4 separate regions of the Homo sapiens genome follow, and regions 2, 3 and 4 are each linked to region 1. The links are contacts of gene promoters, found by promoter capture Hi-C in blood cells and fetal thymus (Javierre and others, 2016). All regions are on one chromosome and are shown on one strand. The core of a region is centred on a gene start or on the middle of the fragment in contact, and the rest is flanking DNA. Distances in the headings are between cores, read along the strand shown. Region 1 holds the start of ARMC12 (armadillo repeat containing 12). Region 2 overlaps RPL10A (ribosomal protein L10a). Region 3 overlaps DEF6 (DEF6 guanine nucleotide exchange factor). Region 4 overlaps PPARD (peroxisome proliferator activated receptor delta).

Region 1 (2,700 bases), core at 84-2,583:
CAGAGAGTGGGGACAGAAGTTGCGGGGAGACCCTGGTGGGGAAGAGGGAAGGGTCTGGTCTCACCTGCCCCATCCTAGTGGTGGGGATCAAGACCTCCACAGGTGGGCTCACATCCTCTGGGGTGGTGGCATCTTCTGACTCCAGAGGACCTCACAAGCCGCCTCATATCCCTGGGGAGGCTGAGAGGTGATACTTCCAAATTTAGCTGAAAGGCACAGACTTACCCACATTTTAATCCTGGAGTTTTAGAATGGTAAATCCGAATCCCTTTAGGTTACAAATGCAGAAACAGACTAAGGCAAAGGCGATCCCTTTCTCCTCCAAGGTCACTCTGGTTAGAAGGGTCTGGAGCCCCAGTTACTAGATGCTGTCATTGTTCTGCCGCCAAGTCCTTAAAGAATGGCAGAACATGACTTAAACCACCTGCTAAGTACAAGATTCTATGCTGGAGATGCAAAGGTAGCTGTCCTCAAGAGCACTTTGTCAAACAGGTAAACTTCAGGGCAACATGCAGATGCTGGAAAAGGGTGGATTTGCCTCAAGAGTCTGTGCATGCTTTCTAAGATACTCCCCTCCTTTTCATCCTCTGATGCGGGGAGGGAACCCTACCTGAAGAAACACCCCAAGGCCCAGGGGTAGATCTAGGGTGGAGAGATCACATATGGGAGGGCCCGGAAAGAAAAGGAACAGGGTTGTCAATGGGCATACCCCAAACACCTCACCCAGAAATGCCCTAAGGCCCCAGCCCGGAAATGGACCTCTGCTGCCCTCTAATGGTGGAAAGGCAGCCTCTGGAGCTACCTGCTGGGGTCCCCCCTTAAAGAAGAGGAGATGTGAAGGACACTTCTGCCCTCTCCCCTTTTATTCCCCTTCTGTCTTATGCTTCATCTCCTGTGGTCTCTAAAGCAGAACCTTCTCTTTTTTTTTTTGAAATGGAGTCTTGCTCTGTCGCTTAGGTTGGAGTACAGTGGCGTGTCAGCTCACTGCAACCTCAACCTCCCAGGCTTAAGCGATTCTCCTGCCTCAGTCCCCTGAGTAGCTGGGATTACATGTGTGCGCCACAATGCCTGGCTAATTTTTTTGTATTTTTAATAGAGACAAGGTTTCACCATATTGGCCAGGCTGGTCTCGAACTGCTGACCTCAAGTGATCTGCCTGCCTTGGCCTCCCAAAGTGCTGGGATTACAAGTGTGGGCCATGGTGCCTGGCCCCATCTGTTCTCGAGCACTCCTGGCTGCCCCATTTCCTGACCACTGCCCTCCATCCCATTATCTCCCCAGTTTCCTTTGTTGCCTAGGTTCCAATTCTGGTACCCTGGTTCCTGACCCTGCCAGAGTTCTGGTTCCGGAAGGCCCCCCACAGGTGCCTTGGGCCTAGCTCTCACCTGGGCCCAGGGCAACACTGAAGACATGGGCAAGAGCATCCCCCAATACCTGGGGCAACTGGACATCCGCAAAAGCGTAGTCAGCCTGGCCACAGGCGCCGGGGCGATCTACCTGCTCTACAAGGCCATCAAGGCTGGCATAAAATGCAAACCACCCCTCTGTAGCAACTCACCCATCTGCATCGCCCGTGAGTGTCCGGGCCCTGGGGAGAGGGCTCTGCCCCAGGAGGCACCTGCTCCCGAGGCCTCTGCTGTGGGAGGGCCCAAAGGTGATGCCTCCAAGTTCCTCTTTCCTTTGTCTTTCTCTTGTCCATCTTCCTCAAGCCCACCCTGCAGCGTCCTAGGCAAGGCCCTGCCAGAGATGCTAGCTCAGGGTCCCTGGATCTCACTCAAGTGGATCCTCAGACTCATCTGGCAGGTCTCCAAATACTACATTTCCTCTGGCTCCCAGGATTCCACTTCTTGGAAACTTGGTGTCGGCAGCTCCCCCCATCCCTTTTCTGCCCTAGGAACGTGAGGCTTTAAGGAAAGGGAAGATTGGAGGACTTACTATATGCCCAGAGCTTCCACTAGTCCACATGTTCTTTTGTGCAGAGTAGGAAAATGAGCCCCTTCTGCAAGACTCTTTATTGCCATCTGCTGGAATATCATTGCCACATACTGGTTATGATGAAATACTACTTGTTACCGCCATATGCCAGACAGTTGTTAGAGTAAATGGACAAATCTATGATGGTACGTTATGGACAATACAACATTAGATAGGGTGCCCTTGTGCAGTAAACATTCGTTCAACTGTACATGGTGGTCCTGCATATGGCGAGAAGGCTTCTCCGAAAAGGCAAGGCAGCCTTGTCCCCAAGTCCCTGTCCCCTACTTCCCAACCCCATTCTTTCATCACTTCTGAGTCCACAGCCTGAACTGGGCTGGGGTGGCTGTCTAGGCCTGGCAGTCGAGCGAGAGCGGCACGGGCGGGACTCAGGTGAGCTCCGGAGGCTCCTCAACTCTTTGGAGTGCAAACAGGATGAGTATGCCAAGAGCATGATCCTGCACAGTATCACTCGCTGTGTGTACTTGCTGGAGGCTGAGGTAAGGGAAGCAGGAGGTCCCCCCTAGCCGGCCTGGCCCCTGGGGGTTACGGCCGATCCCTGCCCCTGGAATGGCCAGACTATATCCTGGGACCTCTCTCTGGCTGATAGCGGTGGGGGGGGGGTGTGCGGAGGGATCTTGGTGACATGGGGGGCAGTGGGCCCAGAACACCCGCTTCTCCTGCCTCTTCCATCTCTCCCCAATACTCCAGGCCTCTGCTTGTACT
Region 2 (2,700 bases), core at 157-2,656, 270 kb before region 1:
GCTCACCAGGCCACTGGGGGAGGAAGGACAGGCCATCTGCTATTCGTCCACCAACCTGACTTGATCCTCTCTTCCCTCCTCCCAGGTGTTATGTCTGGCTGTAGCTGTTGGTCACGTGAAGATGACAGACGATGAGCTTGTGTATAACATTCACCTGGCTGTCAACTTCTTGGTGTCATTGCTCAAGAAAAACTGGCAGAATGTCCGGGCCTTATATATCAAGAGCACCATGGGCAAGCCCCAGCGCCTATATTAAGGCACATTTGAATAAATTCTATTACCAGTTCCCTCTGTCTGCCTGTGATTGAGGGTGGGGGGTGGTTTGTCAGCTGACAAGTGAGGGCCTTGGCACTGCTGATGGCTAGTTGTGTAGTTTGTCACTTTGATGATGGATAGTTGGGTACTATAGGGAAGAGGATGTTTTTCTGCCATCAAAATCAGGCAGTCTTGCATATGTGATAGGGTTGCTAACGGCATTGAAGCTTTTTGACAGGATTGGTCCATGTAAATTTAAAATAAGGATTTTAGTCAGCATTTCTGTGTTAAGAAGACCACATGTGGAGTATCCTATGCTTTGGGTTAGTAATGAGTAAATGTTAAGGAAAACAAGGCACAGCAAACCAGTACAAAAGTATAATTAATGGACCTTGTTTTTTTTTTTTAAATGGAGTTTGTAGCCCAGGCTGGAGCGCAATGGTGCGATCTCAATCTGTGGGTCCCAGTTCAAGCAATTCTGCCTCGGCCTCTCAAAGTGCTGGGATTACAGGTGTGAGTCACCATCCCCAGCCAGATCCTGTTAACAGTATTCCAGGTCCTTGCCCCAGGCAGGCTAAGCCCCCTCCTTTTCTGAGGCATTTCCCTGTTGGCAGTTCTTGCCTCTAGCACCCAGTACTGCTTTAACCTTTGACTAAAATGAGCTTAGTTTGACTTTGGTAAATAGGGGAACAAGTTCATCCCTGCTTTTTTTTTTTTTGAGTCTTCGCTCCATTCCCCAGGCTGGAGTATAAGTGGCGTGATCTGGGCTCACTGCAAGCTCCGCCTCCTGGGTTCATGCCATTCTGCCTCAGCCTCCCGAGTAGCTGGGACTACAAGCGCCCGCCACTATGCCCGGCTAGTTTTTTGGTATTTTTAGTAGAGACAGGGTTTCACCGTGTTAGCCAGGAGGGTCTCCATCTCCTGACCTTGTGATCCGCCCGTCTGGGCCTCCCAAAGTTCTGGGATTACAGGCGTGAGCCACCACCCCCGGCTGAGAACGGTTATTTTAAAGCATAAAAGCAGTGCTTAACAATGCTGTATTTTGGCTGGGTGCGGTGGCTCACGCCTGTGATCCCAGCTACTTGGGAGGCCGAGGCAGAACTGTTTGAACCTGGGAGGTGGAGGTTGCAGTGAGCTGAGATCGCACCACTGCACTCTAGCCTGGGCAACAGCAAGAGTCCATCGGTGGTATGTGTGGGAGTCGGGGGGTCGGGGGAGATGCTGCATTTCTCAAAACAAGCCTTCCCTGTCCCTGAAATGAAGAACACAGGGTTTTTACTCTGAGCAGCTTTTGCTTTTTTAGCTTTTAAGAAGTTAACAGCACTTTCTTGGTAAGAAAGGTATAAAACCTAATGAGGATGAGCAGTGAATTTTGGTTCTCAAGACAGGTCCAGCCAGCTACTTGTTGTGGTTATTTTTCTTTTCTTTGGGCTTTTCTGTATTTTCTGAACCTCCTGTGATCTTTGCAATCAGAAGGAAAAGGGAAACTTCAGCTTAAAGCAAAAGCAATTATCTGAAGGCTCGTGTGCTAATCGCCCACAGATGTAATCGGTGTCCAGTGCAGCCTCCAGGAATTTCTGCTTCCTGGACCCCTCCTACCTACTGGGGCTCGGTACCCTCCCACCCATCCAGCAGGTGACAGTTTGGGGCTCCTAGTGGGATACCAGGCACACAACGTGGAGTCAGGCAGACCAGGTTGGAATCCTGATGTTGGCAGTGACTGGCTGTGAGAAGTACATTTAACATGTCTCAAGTTCTCCCGATCTGTTAACTTGAAGGTTGGACTAGAATGACCTAGAAGACTAGATTCTAGAGGGTTGCCAGATTTAGCAAATAAAAATGCAGGATGTCCTTAGTATTGCATGGAACATACTTAAATCATCTGTTTATCTGAAATTAAAATTTAACTGGGTCATCCCCATTCTGTTTAACCCTTTATTCTAGAGTCTCATCTCTAGCCTGCCACCCTTAGAGCAAATACAGTTTCATCCTGTGACAAGTGAGTCCAATCAGTTCACCCATATTTAACTGCAGGAGAAAAAGCTAGAACAGCCTCTTTGGGAAAATGTTTGCTTAAAGCTTTTTTTTTTTTTTTTTGAGACGGAGTTTAGCTCTGTCACCCAGGCTGGAGTGCAGTGGTGCAATCTCGGCTCACTGCAATGCAACCTCCACCTCCCGGGTTCAAGCTATTCTCCTGCCTTAGCCTCCTGAGTATTTGGGACTACAGGCGTGTGCCACCACACCTGCCTAATTTTTTGCATTTTTTTTTTTTTAGTAGAGACGGGGTTTCACCATGTTAGCCAGGATGGTCTTGATCTGACCTCGTGATCCACCCGCCTCAGCCTCTCAAAGTGCTGGGATTACAGGTGTGAGCCACTGTGCCCGGCCGCTGAAAGTCTTGAACTATCTCTGCCCCAGCCCTCTAAGGACTGTGGTCTGTCCCTA
Region 3 (2,700 bases), core at 200-2,699, 420 kb before region 1:
TAAAAATACAAAAATCAGCCGGGCATGGTGGTGGGCGCCTGTAATCCCAGCTACTCAGGAGGCTGAGGCAGGAGAATCGCTTGAACCTGGAGATGGAGGTTGCAGTGAGTCAAGATTGCACCATTGCACTTCAGCCTGGGTGACAGGAGTGAAACTCTATCTCAAAAAAAAAAAAAAAAAAAAGATGTTCTCTATTTTTTTTGTAAAAAGCCATTTTAACTGGGATGAAATGATATCTCATTTAATTTTGATTTGCTTTTCTCTGATGATTAGTGACATTGAGCATTTTTTCATATCTCTGTTGACCATTTGTATGTCTTCTTTTGAGAAATATCTATTCAGATCTTTTGCCCATTTTTAAACTGGATTATTTGGTTTTTTGTTACAGAGTTGTTTGAGCTCCTTATATATTCTGGTTATTAATCCCTCGTCAGATTGATACTTTGCAAATATTTTCTCCTATTCTGTGGGTTGTCTCTTCACTTTGTTGATTGTTTCCATGGCTGTCCTGAAGCTTTTTAGCTTGACATAATCCCATTTTTCTATTTTTGGTTTGGTTGCCTATGCTTTTGAGGTCTTCCACAAAAAATCTCTTTGCCCAGACCAATGTCCTGGAATATTTCTCCAATGTTTTCTTCTAGTAGTTTCATAGTTTCAGGTCTTACATTTAAATGTTTAATCCATTTTTATTTGATTTTTTTATATGGTGAGAGATAGGGGTCTAGTTTCATTCATCTGCATGTGGTTATTTAGTTTTCCCAGAACCATTTATTGAAAGGACTGTTCTTTCCCCATTGTGTGTTCCTGGAGCCTTTGTCAAAAATGAGTTCTCTGTAAATGCATGGATTTATATCTAGGTTATCTATTCTGTTCCATTGGTCTTTGTGTCTCTTTTTATGCCAGTACTATGCTGATTTGGTTACTATAGCTTTGTACTACATTTTGTTTTTTTGTTTTATTTTAGAGACAGGATTTTTCTCTGGTGTCCAGGCTGGAGTGCAGTGGTATGATCATAGGTCACTGCAGCCTCAGTCTCCTTGGGCTCATGGGATCCTCCTGCTTCAGCCTCCTGAATAGCTGGGGCTATAGGTGTGTACCACCGTGGCCAGTTCGTAGTGTATTTTGAAGTCAGGAAATGTGATGCCTCCAGCTTCGTTCTTTTTACTCAGGCTTACTTTGGCTATTTGAGGTCTTTTGTAGTTCCGTATAAATTTTAGGATTTTTTTTCTATATCTATGAAGAATGCCTTTGCTATTTTGACAGAGATTGCACCAAATCTATAAATTGCTTTGGGTAATATTGTTATTTTAACAATATTAATTTTTCCAATACATAGCATGGGATATCTCTCCATTTTTTTGCATCCTCTTCAATTTATTTCATCAGTTTTATAGTTTTTCTTGTATAGATCTTTCACTTTGGTTACATCGATTCTTAGGTATTTTACATTCTTTGTAGCTGTTGGAAATGGGATTGCACTCAACTTCTTTTTCAGATTGTTTGCTGTTAGCGTATACAAATGCTACTGGGTTTTGTATGTTGAATTATCCTGCAACTTTACTGAATTCATTCATCAACTCTAACGGTTTTTTGTTGGAGTCCCTTTTTTTTTTTTTTTTTTTTTTGAGGAGGAGGAGGAGTCTTGCTTTTATCGCCCAGGCTGGAGTGCAATGGCACGATCTCAGCTCACTGCAACCTCCGCCTCCCGAGTTCAAGTGATTCTCCTGCCTCAGCCTCCCAAGTTAGCTGGGATTACAGGCACCTGCCACCACACCTGGCTAATTTTTTTTTTTTTTGTATTTTTAGTAGAGACAGCATTTCACCGTGTTGGCCAGGCTGGTCTCAAACTCCTGACCTCAGATGATCTGCCCACCTCGGCCTCCCAAAGTGCTGGGATTACAGGTATAAGCCACTGTGCCCGGCCTTTTTTTTTTTTTTAAGAGAGAGACAGGATCTCACTGTATTGCCCAGGCTGGTGTCGAACTCCTGGCCTCAAGCAATCCAACCACCTCAGCTTCCCAAAGTGTTAGGATTACAAGTGTAAGCCACCACGCCCCATGGAGTCTTTAGATTTTTCTAAGTAGAAGACCATGCCATCTGCAAACAAGGCTAATCTGACTTCTTCATTTCCAGTTTGGATGCCCTTCATTTCCTTCTCTTGCCTAATTGCTCTGGCCAGAACTCCCAATACTACATGGAATAAAAGTGGTAAAAGTGGGCATCCTTGTCTTGTTCCAGATCTTAGAGGAAAGGCTTTCAATTTTTCTCCATTTATTACAATGTTAGCTGTGAGTTTGTCATAGATAGCGTTTATTATTTTAAGGTATGTTGCCTCTATACCCAATATTTTAGGGCTTTTATAACACGATGTTGAATTTTTTTAGAAAGCTTTTTCAGGGTCTATTGAAATGATCATATATGGTTTTTGCTCTTGGTTCTGTTACTATGATGTGTCATGCATATTGATTTGTGCATGTTGAACCATCCTTGCATCCCTGGGATGAATCCCATCTGATCATGGTGAAAGATCTATACTCACAATATTGTACAACCATCACCACTATCTATTTCCAAAACTTTTTCATCACACCAAACAGAAACTCTGTACCTACCAAGCAATAACTCCTCATACTCCCTGACCCCAGCTCCTAGTATCCTCTATTCTGCTTTCTGTCTCCATGAATTTGCCTTTTCTAGGTA
Region 4 (2,700 bases), core at 36-2,535, 320 kb before region 1:
CCCTTTCCAAGATGAAGAGATCATTTCCGAGTGTCCAAAGGGCACTGGGAAGAGAATCCTAGCAGTTCTTATGAAATCATCTGACAGCAGATATATCCTGAAGTCATAGCCTTAGCAAACTGCCTTTCTCGCCAACACACTCAACACCCCGTGGTTCAAACATCTATACGTCTGATAGAAAAACTTGGAGAAATTCAGTGTGTTGCTTAATCAATATGACTGATACCTAAGCTGTTCTACTCAAGAAGTTTTCATGGGAATGAACTTGAGCTTCTTGAAGAGATTGTTTACAGCATCCCTGGAGTCTATGCAAGAATAGAACTTCCTGTGGGGGATGGTGGGGAGGCTAGCTCTGCAGAGGTCTACAGTCCTGCAGTTTCTGCAAAACACGTTGCACACATCTCCATATGGGCCACACGGTGGCAACCTCTGAACCAGGAGAGCTGCTTCCTAAGGGCTAAGACCCTCTGTCTGCTTTCTCTCTCTTGCTTTCCTCCCAAAACACAGCCATCCTCCTCCCCACTGCTACCCCATGGTGAGTTCAGCCCAGGAAGCCTCTGACCCAGCCCTGATGGTAATAGCTGCTGTGTACTGGACATCTTCTGTATGTTAGGCTCTGGGAGAAATGCTGTGGAGACTTTTTGCCCATCCTCCCAGAGAAGCTGTCAGTACCCCCTGTTCTAGGTGAAGAAACTGGTCCTCAGAAAGGTTGACTCCCTGAGGCCACACAGCTGTTAAGTGGCTGAGGCGAGGGCTGTGGGGCTGTTCCCACGCCCTGGCTTCCAGGCCTGGCAGCATGTGGAGCTGCCCCTCCATCGTGTGTCCGCAGACCTCTCCCGGAGCTCCTCGCCACCCTCACTGCTGGACCAACTGCAGATGGGCTGTGACGGGGCCTCATGCGGCAGCCTCAACATGGAGTGCCGGGTGTGCGGGGACAAGGCATCGGGCTTCCACTACGGTGTTCATGCATGTGAGGGGTGCAAGGTACGGACTGGGGGGAGCGGTGGCTGGCCACTGAGGCTGTGGTCACATGGTGAATTGACCCTCCACAAAGCTTTCCTTGCCTTGGGGTGGGGCCCTGACTGTACCTATTGCAGAATTCCTGCCCAGGAGGCAGCCAGGCCCTTGTGCTCCAGACCTCAGCTCTGGGCACTGCAGGAGAAGAGGGGGTTCCCTTGTCAAGCCTACCCTGCTGGGCACCTGTGTTGACCCAGCTCTGTGGGTGATTGTGTCCCCCTGGGGACCAGGCAGCTAGGGCAGAATGAGGGTCTTGGGCTGAGCCATCGTCTTACCTGAGGTCTGGGTTTCTTGTTTCTCAAGGCTCAAAGCGGGCTCTGAGAAAAAAGGACAGACATTTGTTTTTCCAGTGATATTTGTGGGTCCTTCCTAACTTCACACCCATCAAAATCTCACAGATTATTTTATTGAATCACCACCTCACAAATACACAGAACCAGATACATTTATGAAGAAATCAAGTTAGCCGTGAGACAATCTTATGTTACCAAACTAACAAAGAAGCTTTTTTTTTTTTTTTTTTTTTTTTTGAGATGGAATCTCGATCTGTCGCCCAGGCTGGAGTGCAGTGGCGTGATCTCAGTTAACTGCAACCTCCACCTCCCGGGTTCAGGAGATTCTCCTGCCTGAGCCTCCAGAGTAGCTGGGATTACAGGTACATGCCACCATGCCTGGCTAATTTTTGTATTTTTAGTAGAGATGGGGTTTCACCACATTGGCCAGGCTGGTCTCGAACTCCTGACCTCAGGTGATCCACCTGCCTTGGCCTCCCAAAGTGCTAGGATTACAGGTGTGAACCACTGTGCCTGACCCAATTTTTGTAGTTTTAATAGGGACGGGGTTTCACCATGTTGGCTAGGCTGGTCTTGAACTCCTGACCTCAGGTGATCCACCCACCTCGGCCTCCCAAAGTGCTGGGATTACAGGCGTGAGCCACTGTGTCCAGCCCCAACAAAGAAGCTTTAGGACTTCTTTAGACATTTAAAATAGTTGTGTTTTTTTTTTGTTTTGTTTTGTTTTATTTTGTTTTGTTTTGTTTTGAGATGGAGTTTCACTCTTGTTGTCCAGGCTGGAGTGTAATGGCGCGATCTTGGCTGACTGCAACCTCCACCTCCCGGGTTCAAGCGATTCCCCTGCCTCAGCCTCCTGAGTAGCTGGGATTACAGGGGTGTGCCACTACACCCAGCTAATTTTTCTGTATTTTTAGTAGAGACGGGGTTTCACCATGTTGGCCAGGCTGGTCTCAAACTCCTGACCTCAGGTGATCCGCCCACCTCGGCCTCTCAAAGTGCTGGGATTACAGGCGTGAGCCACTGTGCCTGAACTAAAATAGTTTTAATTAAAGTTTTAGAATTACTTTCCTTCTCCATCTCCCCTCCAAAAAAATTTCTTCTCGTTACTTCCAAATGTCAGGAGTGTTTACACCTTATACATAATCGGGCCCTTTGGCACAGCCTCCCTCCCACCTCCTGGTGGCCTTTCCTCACCTGTTCTTGGTGCTTCAGGGCTTCTTCCGTCGTACGATCCGCATGAAGCTGGAGTACGAGAAGTGTGAGCGCAGCTGCAAGATTCAGAAGAAGAACCGCAACAAGTGCCAGTACTGCCGCTTCCAGAAGTGCCTGGCACTGGGCATGTCACACAACGGTGAGAGCTGACCAGGGCAACTCACGGGCTGCTGGCTCC

The links. The method cuts DNA at HindIII sites, captures the fragments that hold promoters and counts their contacts. A CHiCAGO score of 5 or more calls a contact.
Region 2: a contact is called between a fragment that was not itself captured here and the fragment with the promoter of ARMC12 in region 1, in 6 of 17 cell types (naive CD4 T cells, fetal thymus, naive CD8 T cells and 3 more). The highest score is 8.5, in naive CD4 T cells.
Region 3: a fragment that was not itself captured here is called in contact with the fragment with the promoter of ARMC12 in region 1 in 2 of 17 cell types (total CD4 T cells and non-activated CD4 T cells); the score reaches 5.6 in total CD4 T cells.
Region 4: a contact is called between a fragment that was not itself captured here and the fragment with the promoter of ARMC12 in region 1, in 1 of 17 cell types (naive CD4 T cells). The highest score is 5.8, in naive CD4 T cells.

The regions. Positions count from the first base shown.
Region 1 is chr6:35,735,699-35,738,398 of GRCh38, forward strand. ARMC12 (armadillo repeat containing 12) reads left to right here and starts at 1,334. Exons shown (of 6, transcript NM_001286574.2): 1 at 1,334-1,573; 2 at 2,329-2,474; 3 at 2,686-2,700. The coding sequence starts at 1,411. LOC285847 (a long non-coding RNA gene) reads right to left here and starts at 1,249. Exons shown (of 10, transcript NR_027117.2): 1 at 1,143-1,249; 2 at 65-180. RefSeq lists enhancers at 1,614-2,222, 2,223-2,700. The HindIII fragment of the contact is 11,422 bases long and covers 1-2,700 here.
Region 2 is chr6:35,470,495-35,473,194 of GRCh38, forward strand. It overlaps RPL10A (ribosomal protein L10a), which reads left to right. Exons shown (of 6, transcript NM_007104.5): 6 at 86-286. The coding sequence ends at 256. It overlaps MIR7111 (microRNA 7111), which reads left to right and starts at 14; the gene lies at 14-85. The HindIII fragment of the contact is 1,852 bases long and covers 481-2,332 here.
Region 3 is chr6:35,314,245-35,316,944 of GRCh38, forward strand. All of the region lies in intron 5 of DEF6 (DEF6 guanine nucleotide exchange factor), which reads left to right. Among named protein-coding and RNA genes, the nearest start is that of DEF6, 18 kb to the left of the region's middle. The HindIII fragment of the contact is 1,874 bases long and covers 513-2,386 here.
Region 4 is chr6:35,419,298-35,421,997 of GRCh38, forward strand. PPARD (peroxisome proliferator activated receptor delta) reads left to right here. Exons shown (of 8, transcript NM_006238.5): 4 at 830-984; 5 at 2,523-2,661. Among named protein-coding and RNA genes, the nearest start is that of FANCE, 32 kb to the right of the region's middle. The HindIII fragment of the contact is 467 bases long and covers 1,053-1,519 here.